Linked DNA regions of Homo sapiens: region 2 is linked to region 1. Evidence: promoter capture Hi-C in human tissues and cell types (Jung and others, 2019). All regions are on one chromosome and are shown on one strand. The core of a region is centred on a gene start or on the middle of the fragment in contact, and the rest is flanking DNA. Distances in the headings are between cores, read along the strand shown.

Region 1 (2,875 bases), core at 95-2,594:
ACATGCACACTGACATGCTCACACACTCATATTCACATGCACACACAACTACATACACTCACACTCACATATTCATATTTACATACACAGCCAGGTGCTCACACATGTTCATGTTCAGCACATGCACACATATTCAGATGCACACACATGCTCACTCACACACACACCCCTGCCCTGCCAGCCCTCGCGCTGTGAAGGGGAAGCTCCCCAGGCTGGCCCCAGCTCCGGAGGAGGGAGCTGGGGGGAACGGAGGGGGCCCTGTGGACCCTCCAGCCTGCTGGGATCCCCTTCTCTCTCCCCGGACTCTGAAGCCTCTGTACACATTTGGAACCCCTGCCCCCGCGGCATCAGGAGGTGTGGGGTGAACAGCTCTGACAGTGCCTGACAGGGACGGGGACAAGGGGCTGCCAGGCCCAAACCCCGGGGAGCGTGATCAAGAAACAACCCCTGGTGACTTGGATGAGGCCCCCCAACTACACACCTCTAGGCTTCCCTCCCCCACTGTCGCCCCACAGCCCCCTCCTCCGGCTGTGAGGGGCCCCGAACTGGGCTCCCTCCCTCCTGTAGCCCTTGGGCTGTCAGTTTTGGGGGAAGACGGAGGGTGATGGGGAGGGAGCGGAGAGACACCCTGGGGCAGAGCGGGATGCAAGAGAGGGGTCCTGGAAGGGGGTCTGGCGGGGCAACACGAGCAGGGCGGGGTTAAGGGGGTGTCGGAGGGACGAGGTCGCGGAGGGAGGAGGGCCGGCGCGGTGGCCGGTTACCTTCGCAGATGCGCCAGAGCCCCGAGTGCGAGGAGAGCAGCTCTGCGCGCCCGGGCCAGGCGCTGCCATTGCCGGCGTCCGCCACCTCCAGGATGTACCAGTAGTCGCTGGCGACCGCGGCGGCCAGGAGCGCGAAGCTGAGCAGTGCACCCAGGGCGGCGGCCAGGAGCAGCGCGCCCAGCCGGGCCATGGGGGCGGCCGGCGGGAGGGGACGGGTCGGGGGTAGCAGGGCCCCGGGGGCGGCGGGGGGCGCGCGGAGCCGGGAGCCGGGGGACGGGGGGCGGGCGGGCGCGGCGGCGCCCGGCTCTTCTGAGCACGTCCCCGCTCCTGCCCGCGCACTGGCCTCGCGGGCCCCCTGGGGTCGCAGGGAGATCGACCCCACCTCTCTGCGGTCGCTGAGCTCGCCCCTGGGGGAAAGGAGAGGAAGTCGAGAGCCGCGCGGCGAACCTGGGGCTTGGGCTCCAATCCCAGCGTCCCCACGGGCTGGCCCCGGGTCCCTGGGCACGTTCCTTAATTTCCCTGAACCCCCGGCTCCTCAGCAGCCAAACAAGATGCACCTGCCTGGCCGGGCTGTGCAGGGCTTGAGAGGAGGAGGGAGGATCGGCCAGAGACCGACCCCAGGAGGATGGCCGGCCAGGCAGCAGGACCACCCACCCGTGCTCCTGGAAGCATAGGAGCCTGGCACGGGCTGGCCCTGGGGTCCTGGTCTGTATCAGTCCTGAGGACCAACCAGACGGCATCCGGTGAAGTGCAGTGGCTGGGCCCCACAGCCGGGCGGGGGGCTGCGGAAGGAAAAAACCTTGTTTTGGATTCACTCATAATTACAAATGCCCCCTCCAGCAAGGCCGGCCTCTGCCTGTCCAGTCACTCACGGAGAAAACAGGCAGAAAGAACCTTCTAGGACAGGCGTGGGGTGCCAGTGGGGGTGGGAGGCAGAGGAGCCGGCGAGAGGCCCCCACCCATCCACCCAGGACTAGCCCCATGAGCAACGCCCGCGTGGGCAGCCACACAGGCGGAAGGGACAGGCTGGGCAGCCATCGCCTAAGGTCTGGGGTTAAATCTCAAACGAAGGGGAGGCTTCCTCTGGGTTGCCACACAGGGCTGGGCAGAGCCTGCAGAGAGGGGATCAGAGGTCTGAGGACATCCTCCCGGATGGTGGCCCTTGGAGGTGAAGCCAAGGCTCTCTTCTTGGGGCGTTTTGGCCATGCTTTCCTCTGCTAGGCTCTTGTTGGTTTGAGGAATATAGTCAGGAAGGAAAAACCAGCCTAGCAGTTATTGAAACAATATTTCAAACAGAGTTCAGACAGAGTGACAGAATGGCTCAGGTATTTTGTAGCCGTCCTCACACCTGCAGCACCAGACTGTGTTGCCGCACGTGGGCAGCTCTGGGGTTTTCCAGCCCCCTTGGAGCTGGGGCTTCCCTGACCACAGCCCCTCTCTGGGAGCCATGTGGCATCCAGCAGCCCTGTTCTCTAGGGGTGGGGATAGCACATTAGATCTGGAAGGTGAAAGAACTCAACAGGTGCTCAGAGAGTAGCAGCCGTTATAAAGGCAGAGGCGATAGGGATAGGGGGTGGGGCCTCGTTCCCCCCCTAAACACACTGCAGCTGGGGAAAGAACGGTGCGTGATGAAAACTCGTGGTACTCTGACACTGACCCCACAATAAAGCAATATAACAAGAATCAATATTGCTTCGGTTGGATCAACACCTTTGTGCATGTGAAAGGTACGAACTGACTCTGCAGGGAGAACAGAGGAGCCCCATTTGGGCTGCGTGCTCCATGTGTGTCCTCCCGGTGACTTCCCCTTCTCTCTCTCACTCTATTTATTTTTTTAGAGACAAGGTCTCCCTATGTTGCCCAGGCTGGACTCAAACTCCAGGGTTCAAGTGATCCTCCTGCCTGGGCTTCCCAAAGTGCTGGGATTACAGGTGTGAGCCACCAAGCCCAGCCTCTCCTTTCTTTTTTTTTTTTTTTTTTTTTCAGAGACAGGGAGGGCAGGGGTCTCCCTATGTTGCCCAGGCTGGTCTCGAACTCCTGGGTTCAAGTGATCCTCCTGCCTCGGCTTCCCAAAGTGCTGGGATTATAGGCGTGAGCCACTGTGCCCAGCTTCC
Region 2 (2,895 bases), core at 312-2,811, 270 kb after region 1:
ATCAGTTTCAGCTTCCATGTATAAAGTGAATATAATCACAGCTCCTAACTTATAAGCTGCTGAGGAGAAATGAATGAGATCATACACACAAAGTGCTCAGAAGGCAGTCAGTTAATATTGGCAGCTGGATAGCAGGACACAGAACAGAGGAAGAGACTCATTAAGCAGCTATTAAAATAATCCAAGCTTTTTCCATATGTGAGGGCTTTGAAGTGTATTGAGTTTAAATTCTGGCTTCATCTCCTATAAGCTATAGGATCTTGTGGAAATTACTCCCTTTGCTCATCTGTAAAATGGGAATGTTAAAAGCAACCACTTCACAGGAGTGTTGTGAGGATTAAATAAGATAAACTCATGTCCTTGGCACATAATCACATTGTAAATGCTCAGATTAGTTTTAAATGGAGATCTGGTTACCTAAGGATGCTTTCTAACCTCGTCCACTCCCACTTCACAATTCCCAATTGTCCTCAGTGACTCAAATGTACTTGTTCCCACAAATCCATCACCTTCTTCCCTTACTGTGCCTCCCTACCAAAAAAGACCTTGTTTAAGACATCAGCCATAGCCCCCTGAAGAACAAAGCCTATTAAATTCCCTCCCTACACTCTGGGCCCCTCACTCTGCACTTCATATTTCATATGGAGTATGAGAAAAAATACTTGTGCATCTCCCTCCTCCCCACTGTAATTTCTGAATAACCGTTGTCCACATCATCTCAACAACAGTTGGAAAGGTGACACCTGTGCCCGCGTTGCCATTTCCCAGTTTCAGATCTTAGTTTAATTCCCAGTTGCTATTTTCACTGAGATTTTCCCTGCTTCCTAAAAGAGTAATTAAAAAGAAATGATCTTTGGGAATAAAAAAGTAAACAATATCTTTGCCAGGCTCAAACCAAGCACTTGATTTTAGCTGTGAGAGATCTTATTCTTAATAAGCTAGAAGGCACACATAAAATGAATCAAACAAAGCACATATTCCCAATAACCACCTGGGCACCAACTTGCATCTGGTATTAGCCACGTCAAAAGACAGTCTGCACATTAGTAAAGGACTCAACCACAGACAAGAGTTATCCAACTGCTGAGAATAATTCAACTTGACACTGTGATACTATAGGTTTGTAGTTCAATCCTTCAGAGAAGGAAGTTATAAAGATACAATAGAGTATTAATTTCTAAAATGGTCTGAAGAAGAAAAACAGAGAGGGTCTTCAGAGTAAACCATTTGGATTTATACAAATAGATGCCAGTCACACTCTTCTTCATTTTTGTGCAAAAAAATTAAAAATTTGTTATGCCAAAAAGGTTCATGAGAAAGTGGAAACTGGGCCAAATTAGACCAATCCATCCCACAAAATATCTGGAAGATTCCAGATGACTCTTTGGGCCATGTGCACTGTGTGTGGCCCAGTGATCATATGGGTCTTAGGGCAGTGGTTCTCCAACAGAAAAGAAGTATTGCAACAAAGAGGCAAATAAAGAGGAAGATGGTGGGACAGACAACTCTTATTTCCTAGACACCCCTTATTTCCTAGAGCAAACATTTAAATCCACTGGCTTACAAGAGGAATATACTTAAGAAGCTATATTATTGCTCATCCTTAATCACTACTATATTTTAGAAAACCAAAGTTCCAATGCATAGCTGGAACTCAGAGAGACACAGAGAATATTAAGAGTTCAAAATAACATTGAGTGTTCCTTTCCCAAGACCATTACTTCTGTTGTGGTTTGCAGCCACAGAGGGCTCAGGAGAGTGCGAACAACTATCTGTGCTACAGCAGTGATGTTTTATGGCTGGATGCCCAGATTGTCTAGCTCTGCACACAGCTCTATAGTCTTTTGAAGGCTACAGAGGAGGAATGCATTCTTAACAAACAGCTCTCCATTCCTGCAATAGCTTCTTCATTCTCTGAAAACATCTAAAGCTAAGAAAAGAATTCATTTTTAGTAAAACTCCAAAAATGGAACAAACGATATGGATTTTCAGCATGTTTTAAACATGTAAAACCTTGTTATATATATCCCAGGTGGAGATTTTTTAAAATTACATAATTTACTTTTCATTAAATAAATTAACATTTCAAATGCACGATCTGTACAATAGGAAACTGTACCATTATTTTAATCGGGTTATTCAAACAAGTTCACTGGCTAAGATTATACATTTCTCAGTTTCAATTTCAGATATACACTTTCTGCACAAGGTTATATAGTTATTTCTGACAAGTAACCTTTACATTTTTAAGTAATTATATTCCTAAAAAGTTATGTATAAGCTGAAAATTTATAAATGGACTCCACTGCATTAAAGTCTATTTAAAGAAAGCTTATTGTATATCATTTTATAAAGAATGCTCTCCTCGTGACCACACAATTATTTAAAAACTCATTTGTATAAATTTGGATAGCCATAGACTGAGTAAAAGCAAGAAAACCTGTACAATCTACCCCCTACAAAATAGGAGCCACTTCTCACCTGATATTTTGCTGTCCCTACTCAAATCTATGACATCTTCAAACAAAATATTAAGATGTTAACTATCTAAAGTAACTAAAATCCAGTCACCTTCACTGGGACCAGTTGTCATGCAAGAGAGACCAAAGACTGTGTCACCAACACTTCAAAATATTTCCTTACTTCTCACCTAAAATATTTGAAGACCCTCTGAGATAGAGCTGGAGAAAAGGTAAAAACCCATGTCTTAAAATTATGAGAAAGAAGCCAAAACAAGTTCAACGGAAGATAACAAAAACAAAACAAACATAAAGTTACCTGGTTCTTCCCAGCTTATATAGACCCTTTCACGCTCAGTCTGTTCAGGACTCCGCCTCCTGCTCCCTCAACCTATCCTTCTGCCAGCTCCAAGGACGTCTATAAATCTGTTCCTGT

What was found. Contacts are between HindIII fragments. The study calls those that stand out against the background at their distance.
Region 2: a fragment that was not itself captured here is called in contact with the fragment with the promoter of TMEM235 in region 1 in 1 of the 25 tissues and cell types used here (spleen).

The regions. Positions count from the first base shown.
Region 1 is chr17:78,230,100-78,232,974 of GRCh38, reverse strand. TMEM235 (transmembrane protein 235) reads right to left here and starts at 1,344. Exons shown (of 5, transcript NM_001395503.1): 1 at 762-1,344. The coding sequence starts at 951. The HindIII fragment of the contact is 13,022 bases long and covers 1-2,875 here.
Region 2 is chr17:77,962,542-77,965,436 of GRCh38, reverse strand. The region is part of intron 1 of TNRC6C (trinucleotide repeat containing adaptor 6C); the gene reads right to left. Among named protein-coding and RNA genes, the nearest start is that of TNRC6C, 5.3 kb to the right of the region's middle. The HindIII fragment of the contact is 3,556 bases long and covers 1-2,895 here.